Linked DNA regions of Homo sapiens: regions 1 and 3 are each linked to region 2. The links are contacts of gene promoters, found by promoter capture Hi-C in blood cells and fetal thymus (Javierre and others, 2016). All regions are on one chromosome and are shown on one strand. Each heading gives the region's core, a stretch centred on a gene start or on the middle of the fragment in contact. The rest is flanking DNA. Distances are from core to core; before and after follow the strand shown.

Region 1 (3,706 bases), core at 599-3,098, 220 kb before region 2:
CAGCTCAATTTCTGAAAGAGCAACAAGACTTGGAGAACATGGGCTTCTTTTCTAAGGATTATTGGTCTCTGACTTTCTGCAAATAACCACAGGTTGGCGCAAGCCTGAGGAAATAAGATAATGCGTATCCTGTTTCCTACTCTTATTTCCTTAACTGGTTCAGTGTGTACCTTTCCTGGTTTCCATGCTCTTCTCTGCTCCTAATGGTTCAGAGAATAAATATTAGGCTTCAGCAACCTAGGGATCCCTGGAAGAGTCATCTCATGGCTATTAGAACTTATGGAATACCACATCAAGCAAATGCAGTCTAAATCAGGTTTGAAAATATGTGAATTTGTAAACTTTGTATTTTATCTTTCTGATTTGCTTCACAAATACCAAAGAAACTTCTCTGAGGATGGAAGGCTTGCAGGTCAGGAACATGGTGTGAGGTCAGTTGGAAGTTAGGAGGAGGAAAGTATGTGGATAATCAAGAAATTATCGAATAATATAAGCCTGATGTAGCCCTGAATCTAATGGAGATAGGCAGAAACTCACAGAAGAGAGAAGTGAGGAAGATGAAGGGGTCACCAAACCCAGATATCCTCCCACTGATATGTGAGGCCTCTGGAGCGGAGCACTTGTTTCTACCATCTCTTACCTGCAATTCTCCCCTCTTGTTTTCCTTTCTTGCTGAGTTATAGGGTCTCCCCAGTCTAATCTCGTAAAGTCTTATGAAGACATCTGTAGGTTGGCTGGCTTAATGGTCCATGACCTCATAAACATGGGACAGGAGAGCCATTTGGTCCACTTCAGAGCCAGACCCTTCTGGACATTATTTATTTCCTACCATGGAAGCCTGAGACTGCTTGCCCTCTTCCCTTTCGATCTCTTTCTTGCTCTCTAAACATCATGTCACTTTGTCTCTGTCTCAGGCCCACTGGAAAGCACAACTCCAGGGTTTTGACACCCACGCTTGTATTCCTAAACTATGTCTTGGTTTTTGTTTCCCTCAGTGAGGGGCTGTGCCTGCATGGCGTTCATTCAGATGACCTCATCATTGCTCATAGCTCTCCTCCCAGGAATCTTGCCTCAGTGTGCTGGAGAAGTCAGGAACTGGGCAATTTTGCCTCTCCTTTTGTCTTCATTAAAGAGCTTCAGAGCTTGTGAAATCAGTGCAGCACTGGCAGCCTGGGGAAAATGGAGGATCACTGTGTGGGAATCCCCTTCATTGGATCACTGAGCACACAGTTCTATGTTTTTCTTTTTTTTTTTTTTTGAAATGGAGTCTCGCTCTTTTGCCAAGGCTGGAGTGCAGTGGCGTAATCTTGGCTTACTGCAACCTCTGCCTCCCAGGTTCAAGCGATTCTCCTGCCTCAACCTCCCGAGTAGCTGGGACTACAGGCGCCCACCACCACACCTGGCTAATTTTTGTTTTGTTTTGTTTGAGACAGAGTCTTGCTCTTGTTGCGTAGGCTGGAGTGCAATGGCATGATCTCAACTCACTGCAACCTCCGCCTCCCGGGTGCAAGCGATTCTCCTCTCTCAGCCTCCTGAGTAGCTAGGATTACAGGCGTGAGCCACTGTGCCCAGCCTAATTTTTTTTTTTTTTTTTTTTTTTTTTTAGTAGAGACAGGGTTTCCCCATGTTGACAAGGCTGGTCTCGAACTCCTGACCTCAAGTGATCTGCCCGCCTCGGCCTCCCAAAGTGTTGAGATTACAGGTGTGAGCCACAGCGCCTGGCCTGAGCACACAGTTCTAAATCGCTCTGTTAAGAGTCAGCAGCCCTCAGCCTCTGCTCTTTGGAAGTAAGTGTGAGCTGGGGGTGAAAGCCCCAGTACTGAGGGCTGCTGAATGTGAGTGTGTGCAGAGGAGAGCCCATTATATCCTGTGGACACACCAAAGTGCTCCCCAAGCCTTGAGAGTGACTTGTGCATCTGTGTTGGGGAACAGGAAGACAAGGTGAAAGCTGGGGGCCAACTGGTGTGTGTGGGCATGCCACACAGGCATTGCGGGGATTCTGTTGTTCAGGCCAAGATGAGGCAGCAGCCACTGTGAGAATACCCCAAGAATTCACCTGCTTAAAGTCACAGAGAAGATGAAGACAGATGAAGGGAAGGGTCTGATTCTCAGCTCTTTGGCTACTTGGCCTTTTTTCCTCTTCCCTGTTGCTCTCCTGCTTTCCCCTCCCACTCCGCAGCTGTAACATCTTGCTTTCCAGTTGCTGGCTCCCTCCTCTCTCTTAGCTTCTGCATTTATTTGTGAGGCTGTATTTTTTATGGTTTCTCCCCTTTGTCTACTATATTGTGTGTATTTTTCTCTTTGTCTTCTTTTCTTCCTTTTCTAGTCTCTCCACCCCATGTTCTCAACATCCCCTTTAAATTCCATAAGCAACCTCAATTTGGACATTTAATTTTAACCCCATCAAATTATTTCTTATAACAATCTGGGACTCTTTATGAGCTCTTTCTCCCCCATGCTGCTTCTGGAAACAGGTGCTTCTGTTTATGTGTATAATGTGATGCCCCCTCCCACACTGGGAGAGGTGATGCTGGCTCAATAGCCTCATGCCTCGTCTCAGCAAAGCGTTGTTTGATCATTTGGTTATGAGCCAAGGAGGGAGGAAGAGATGCTGAGAATCGAGCTTGCTGATATATTTGGGGGCTGCTGAGATGAAAAGGTTTAGGGTTATTATTGTAGCCTTTCCTTTTAATTCCTCTTTCTGCTGCTGCTATCTTCTGGAGAAGGAAGCTGGTAGGAAGCTGAGGTATTGACCACAGCTGCTGCAGCTTATGAAATTCTTACAAAATTAGCTATTAGGGAGGCTGAGGCAGGAGAATTGCTTGAACCCGGGAGGCAGAGATTGCGGTGAGCCGAGATCATGCCACTGCACTCCAGCCTGGGCAACAAGAGCAAAACTCTGTCTCAAAAAAAAAAGAACAAAAAGAAATTCTGCTTCTACATCTGCAGCAAGGGTAGGGGTAGGGATAGGGGGTGGAGATGGGGTTGAGGTAGGAGGGCAGGTAAACTAGGGTCCTTGCCTTTGCTGTGTAGGAAGGAATGGGAGAGTCCATTCCTTCAGACTGTTTCCATGCAGCACTTACTTATGCAGCCTGTTTCCCCTTTGCTTCTCCCCACTCCACTCCACACTATAATCCTCTGCTTCTGTACATTTCAGCTATTCTTGGTAGGAGCCAGGACAGCCCAGCTCCTAGACGCCTGGGCCTGTCCTCTGTCACATACCCCCTTGCTCTAGTTCCTGCCTTACCCTTCTAGTCCTGTCTGCGCATGGAGCTGGGAGATAGAGAGGATGGGGCTGCCACAATGCTCCCAGGAGAGAGCAGGGCTGGGGCTCCCTGCTGCTCAAGGGTGTGGTGCAGCCACATGTCTTGCTTCTGGAGCAGGTCACAGGATGCTTCCTCCGTGTTTTTTTCTGCCCTTTTAATTTCCCTCTCCCTAACCTTTTCACTGTTCATTGTCCTTTCTAGTTACTGTATTTTCCTTTTTATCGTCTTCTCAGTTCTTCCCATTTTCCTCTCCCATTTTTTGTTTTTTTTGATATGGAGTCTTGCTCTTGTTGCCCAGGCTGGAGTGCAATGGTGCGATATCGGCTCACTACACCTTCTGCCTCCTGGGTTCAAGTGATTTTCCTACCTCAGCCTCCCGAGTAGCTGGGATTACAGGTGCCCACCACTATGCCCAACTAGTTTTTGTATTTTTAGTAGAG
Region 2 (3,319 bases), core at 588-3,087:
CCACCAGGCCTGTAATCCTAGGAACTGGCCTTTGCAGCTTTGTTTACAAGTGCAGCAGGGCATTTAGTGAGCGAGGCTGGGGACAGACTGTTTCCAAAAGAAAGGAAAAAAAGCTGGGGGTAAAGAAGAGGGGCTCTGCCCACTGCCCTCTCCTTGTCTCTCTCTGCCTAATGCTTTTCCAATAAGAAAAATAATTGATCTGCTGGAATGTGTCACCGCTCCGCCTGATTGCTAACTGGAGACCAGCAAATAAATCATGGGCCATCCCCGCCGGAACTTGTCGCTTTATCGCTTCCCCCTGTACTTCGAAATTGGGCCATGAGGGGCCACCCTTGGAGGGGCTCATGACCTAAGCTACTCTGCAGGTCTCAGGGAGACCCCACAAGTCCTTGATTGGGGGGGCGGCTAGGGTCTTCTGGACCTCAGGAACCCCTAATCTCTATGGCCTCTCTCCTTTTGAGCACTCTTTTTTCCCCCTCCTCTCAGGCTCCCCCGTCTTCTCCCAACTGGGGGAAGTATAAAAAAGTTGGGGTAGTGGCCCTCAGGCTGGTTCTCTGAGAGGAGGTTATGGGTGCCCTAGAGAGCCAGAGAGCCTGTCCTTAGAGTCTCACCACACTCTGGCTAGGGCAGAGCAACAGGGGTCTGTCTCCCTTTGCCCCAAGACAGCCTGGCCAGTGTCCTGGACTCCAGGCTCCCTGCCTCTGGAGAAACTGGTTTGTTCCAAAGGCTGACAGTCTCAGGGTACTCAGGGTACCATTCCCAGCCACCTCCCCAACTTTGACTTTAGAGATGGGGAGTGGGAGAGTCAGAGAGAGACAGACAGACAGAGATGGAGAAAACGATTTTTAACCCTTTGCGGCCACACACCAGCTTTCTCTCACCTTCACCCCAATCCCCTAAATGTTCTAGGCACCCCCTCCCTGCCCCGCCCCAGCGGAGCCTTCCCAACTTCGAGAAAACCACCCAGGCACAGGCACGGGGGTGGGGCGGGAGAGACCCCAAAGCCAGGAGAAAAAGCGAGGGCAGACAAAAAGGAGGCGAGGGAGGGGGGGAAACCCTGGAGCGCGGGAGACCAAGGGGGAAAGAGAAAAGGCTTCTCACCGTGGGGTCTCATCCATGGAAACATGAGGCTGGGAGACGAGTTTTGATTTAAGTGGCCTTGTCCTTCGCTACTGTTAGTGTTGGCGGAGGATTTACAGTCGGGATATTGCACCACGCTCGCCTCTTGCTGAGCCCCATAAAGGGACTGTCTGGGGAGCGCCTCGTAGCCATAGAATTTGGAGGCGTCTCCGTGGCAGCTAAGCGAGCACGGGTTCTGCTGGTAGCCTGAGTTGGAGATGCCGGAGGTGCCGTGGTGGAAGAAGTCTTGAACGTGGTGCGAAGCGTGCTGGAAGCCGGGCGCCGAGCCGCCGGGCCCGTACACCAGCGCATGGCTCCTGCCCACGCTCTGAGGGAACCGGCAGTCGTAATAGGCCGGTTCCAGGGACTCGCCGGCTTTGTATTTGGAGAACAGGGGGTTGACGAAGTAGGAGCTCATGCTGGGTACATGAAAACCCGCGGCCCCCTCCCCTCTGGCTCACGAGTACCCCGCCCAGTACCCCCGAAACTCCCCTCCCCCCGGGACCGAACCCCAGGCCAGCTGGCTCCCCGGGACTGGGCTGGGCTGGTGGGCTGGGGGCTGGGCAGGTTGGGGGGCGCCTCGGTGCTGAGCTCGGCCGGATCAGCAGAGCTCCCGGGGCTGGGGCGCGGGCGGCGGCGGCGGCGGGCGGCGAGCGGGCGGCGGCGGCGGCGGCGGCGCTCCTCACTGTCGGTAGGTAGAGCTCGCGCTCTCTCACTTAGCTCTTTCCTCTAACAGCCCAGGCGAATTCCTCAGACTCCCGGCGGTGGCGGCGCTTACACGCGATTCGCGTTCATCAATCCACGACATGAAGACAGGCGAGAGAGAGAGAGAGAGAGAGAGAGAGAGAGAGAGAGAGAGAGAGAGAGAGAGAGAGATGGCGGGGGTTGAGGGGTACAGGGCTGGGGGGACCTGGAGGAAGGGGAGGGGAGGAGAGGGGGAGGGATGGGGGTGTGTGGTGTGTGTAGGGGGGTGGTGAGCCAGCCCCAGCTAATGGCTGGGGCCAGTTTTCCAGGGTACGAATTTAGATGTGAAGGTGCCTCTCGCCCCCAGCCTCGCTTCTCTTTTCCTTCTTCTCAGAGAGAGAGAGATACCTGAGCCAGCAGGTCAACCCAGGTTACCTCAACAGGTATAAGACCTCCAAGGGGATGAATACCTGCAAGCCAGAGCAGGGCCCCTAACCCAAAAGATGGGCTTCCTAGGGGGTCCCTAAGTCTGGAGACTTTGAGGAGGAACAAGCACACCATACTCCCAAATACTTCAGGCATCAGACCCTCCATCCCCTGGCCCCTCCCCAGGGTCCGAAGCTGTTCTGTCTTCTTCCTTAGATCCAGGAGACTCTCTTGCTACCTGCTATGGGTAGAGGAGAGGGTCAGAGGAGGTGGGGCTGGGGAAAACTCCATATACCCAGTCAGGGCCACACTGCCCCTTCAGACACGAGCCCCTGCATGGAGCAGGAAACCCAGGCAATGGCCACAAGCTTGGCTAGGGGCTCTGAGAGCAAAGCTGCTTATGGAGACTAAAAGGAAAGGGCAGCTGTGTGTCCCTGGTTTCTAGCTGGGCTGATTCAGGACATTTCTTCTTAGGAGACTATTTGCATCTGAGTTGGAGGGGACTGGAGCAGGCCTCTTACTTGTCCCCACATACCCCCATGCCATAGGAAATGCCAGCTCAGCCTGGTGGGGCCCCTGGCTTCACTGCAGCTCCCTCTTCCCCAGGCAGGCTGCCCAGGCCAGGATGTGGATGGGAACTATCAACAGACACTCTTTAAATATTTATCCACACTTTCTCTGGAGGGTTCCCCCATCCCCAAGACTGAATACGTTCAAGTTAATTCTAATGGATTAAAGAACCTTAGTCCATCAGCACCCTTCTCTGGCCATAAGTGTGTACAGTGATTTGGGCTTAACACAGACAGAGAGAAAAAGGGAGAAGGTGAGAATACATGCATGCTGTGTGCATATGAATGAAAAAGATGAGTAAGAATTATTTTTCCAGTCCTCTCCCTCACCAGGGTGTGAGGCTGTTACACCCAGGAAATCCTAGAGCACACTCAGGACACACACACACTGTACGTGCTACTTTTCACCCTGAGACACATCAAGTCCATGCTCAGTGTAAACTAGCACACACATGCCTGGAAGCATCCCTGCCACCTCACAGACACTGTACGCACATGTGCACACCCAGGCACACATGCAT
Region 3 (3,311 bases), core at 105-2,604, 230 kb after region 2:
TTTATTTACTCATATGTTACTTATGGCACTTATCACTTTCTACTTTGTATTGCGGCTATACCTTACTTTTTGTATTAGAATATAAGCTCCTTAAGGGCAGGGGCCATACTTCATTACATGTGCTATCGTTTCATAATGCCTAGAACATGATATACAATAAATATTTACTAAATCCATTATTTAACCAGCCAACCAAAGCTCAGAAGTCACATGTCAGGGAACATGTCACCTGTTGCAGCCCAAACATCACAGAAACTGACACTGAAGGACATCATAGAAAAATCAACCCTGCTTTCCCCCCAGAAAAAGCTCCAAATACCTCCCAACATTTTGCTTTTTTACGCACCACATGACATAATCCCATTTGGGTTCGTCTAACTCATGTAGCTTCATGTACTAATTAAGCTGTAAGACACAACAGGGCATGAATTTATTGTGCAATAATTCACACGCAGAATGTTTGCGCAGTGCTTGGGCGTGAGTTATGACACATTAATTCACGGCCTAGAGGGCCTCATTGCAATTACAGAACCATTTTTTAAATATCATCTGGGTTTAAAATACAAATATTGGTCTCCCCAGTCTTAAAACCCTTAGCCCCAAAATGCAGCTAGCCTCCTTTCTCCTCATTCTGCTTTATCAACTTAGCTGTTCTGATGGCAAAGAATGTAGAGTCCAATTCTTCGTTTTACTTCCCTAGAATCAGAGGGGCACTGTGAAAAGAGAGGAAGAGGGAGAATGGGGCAGAGACTTTATAACTATCTGCAAGAGAGAGAGAGGAGCTGGTCCTTGGGTAAGGAAACACTGCAGAAATGGATCCTGCAGCCAACTAAGGGTCTATTACTAAGAAAGGAGAAGGGCCAGAAAAGACTTTTATGAATTCTGACATTCAATAAACCTTACCCAAAGCAACAAGGCAAAATTCACTACAATGTTTATGTCCACAGTTAGGAGAGTGTGATGGGTAGGGAGAGAAGAAATAAGTCACCTGGCTCAGTAACTCATAACTAAAAACAATTCCTACTGTCTCCTCTCTCCCCAGGGTTCTGGGAGAGAAGGTGAGCTCACTTCTGCAGATGACTCTACTCACTGGCCACACCATGCTCTATAAACACCCTGCACCATCTGTGATGTCAGCTGCCAGCTGCCTGGAGAATCTGCCCTGCTCTGGGAGCTTGTATTAAAACACTCACTTATAACTCCCTATTAATTTTTCACGAGGAGTTATTTTTAACTTGCTCAAACCATTGTCTGAATATGCCAAATATATTTTCTTAATGAACGAGCCTGGCGTGTGGTTCCTCCTTCCCCTCCTCTCCTGCTGCTATTCAAATGGTCCCTTCCTCATGGGGCGCAGGGCTTGGATGAACTATTCACAGCAATGCCCCGGAAATGAGTAGTGGGGAACAGAGAAAACCAAGACACAAGGCTCACACTTTCCTCCCTACTCAGGCTTTGGTTTTGAGAGAACTTCAGGAATTTCAGGAGATGTTAACAGGTTTATAAAAACAGAAAGATCAAGTCAAAATTGAAAACTCTTCTCTACAGATTATCCAAAGGGACTCTTGGGTTATTGGATCAAATCATCTCTCTACAAATCCATCTAGACTCCTTTATTTGCCGTAATATTACCAGTCCCAATATTATGATTTCCTTGCAAGTAAGTGGGGTAGATACACAGTCAATTTTTAACTCATGGACTCTTTCTAAACTATAAATCTGATTGAGTTGTTCCCCCACTTAAAACCCTTCCGTGGTTCCCTTCTGCCCTCAGGATAAAGTCTAAAGTCCTTAGCCTAGCCCTTCCCAATTTCTTCATAATTTCACTCTGCTTATTCCTCTAGTACCATCATCTTCCCAGGTCGTGCTCCTGCCATGCAGTTCCACTCACCCTGCTCCCCTGCCTCTAATCCCCGCTCGGCCCTTTCACTCAGCGGATTCCTACTTATTTTTCAATTCCCAGTTTAGAAATTGCTTCCCTGGGAAGCCTCCCCTGGCTTTTTCTCTGGATTAGGTGCCCTTCCTATATCCTCTCATAGCATCTGTGCTTGCCCCACTTGGCATAAATTATCAAGATTCCAGTTCAGCTGCCTGTCTCCTCCACTAGACTCTGAGTTAGGAGCTAATAAATATTTGTTGAACAAATGTACAAACAGAGAAGAGAAAACCTGAAAGAGCAGATAATCCAAAATTCCTATCTGCTTGACTTTGAGATACATACTTTGTAGCCAAGCAACCTTTATAAATCTGACTCAGGTAAATATATAAATGGTATTACATTCCTTGTAGAAGGCAATCAAAATGAAAAGCGTGAAGGGAAAACCAACTGTGATAAAACCTTGACCGCAGATAATTCATGGCATGTATAAGCCACATGTAGGCGATAAAGAATTGTTTGCCATTGTGGATGCTTGTTTTAGAAATATCAGCCTGCCTTGGATTGCAGGGAACCTTCTAACCCTCAGTTAGCAGGTCCCTACTTATCTGAAGGCATCATGCTCAGCTCTCCGTAGGACATCCCCTAAGCCAGAGGTTGTCACTCGAGGGGCCATAATTAAGATACCTGGGGAATATTTTCAAACTTCATATCCTTACCCTCTGGAGATTATTTTACAACTAGCCCCTTACTTCTTGTGACTGCTCTAAACCATCCCAAATGACAAGAACCTGTCCTAGATTTAAAAGGGACGAGACTCTAAAACTTTCCTTCACAGGAAGGCAGCGTAGTTTACTAGTTAAGAGTAAGAGCTCTGTAGATAGACTGCTGGGGTCAAATCTCAGCTCAACCATTTCACAGCTACATGATTTTGGACAGATTCTTATCCTTATTTTATTTATTTATTTATTTATTTATTTATTTATTTATTTATGTTTTGTTTTGAGACGGAGTCTTGCTCTGTCACCCAGACTGGAGTGCAGTGGCGCGATCGCAGCTCACTGCAACCTCAGCCTCCAGGATTCAAGTGATTCTCTTGCCTCAGCCTCCCAAGTAGCTAGGATTAAAGGCACTCGCCACCATGCCCAGCTAATTTTGTCTCTGGACAAATTATTTACCCTCTATGTGCTTTAGTTTCCACAACTGAAAAATGGGAGTAAATAAACTTCATAGGGTTGTTAGGAAGATCAAATGCAGTAATGCTTGAAAAGTACTTAGCTCAGTACTTAGCAAAACAATATGTACTTAATACAATCTACCTAATACTTAATATTAAAATTTGATCCAAAGTCCTCCAACTTTGAAAATGAATTCATCTTTTTAAATGTCTAGCCTCAAAATCACCCACTGAAACTTAAGCTTGTTGGCTGGCCCT

What was found. The method cuts DNA at HindIII sites, captures the fragments that hold promoters and counts their contacts. A CHiCAGO score of 5 or more calls a contact.
Region 1: a contact is called between a fragment that was not itself captured here and the fragment with the promoter of HOXC8 in region 2, in 5 of 17 cell types (naive CD8 T cells, naive CD4 T cells, total CD4 T cells and 2 more). The highest score is 9.3, in naive CD8 T cells.
Region 3: a contact is called between a fragment that was not itself captured here and the fragment with the promoter of HOXC8 in region 2, in 1 of 17 cell types (erythroblasts). The highest score is 5.2, in erythroblasts.

What each region holds. Positions count from the first base shown.
Region 1 is chr12:54,227,171-54,230,876 of GRCh38, reverse strand. No RefSeq gene overlaps it. Among named protein-coding and RNA genes, the nearest start is that of MIR3198-2, 2.5 kb to the left of the region's middle. The HindIII fragment of the contact is 5,473 bases long and covers 1-3,706 here.
Region 2 is chr12:54,007,503-54,010,821 of GRCh38, reverse strand. It overlaps HOXC8 (homeobox C8), which reads right to left and starts at 1,837. Exons shown (of 2, transcript NM_022658.4): 1 at 1,102-1,837. The coding sequence starts at 1,537. The HindIII fragment of the contact is 5,152 bases long and covers 1-2,599 here.
Region 3 is chr12:53,779,420-53,782,730 of GRCh38, reverse strand. All of the region lies in intron 1 of LOC105378250 (a long non-coding RNA gene), which reads right to left. Among named protein-coding and RNA genes, the nearest start is that of CISTR, 29 kb to the right of the region's middle. The HindIII fragment of the contact is 3,886 bases long and covers 1-3,297 here.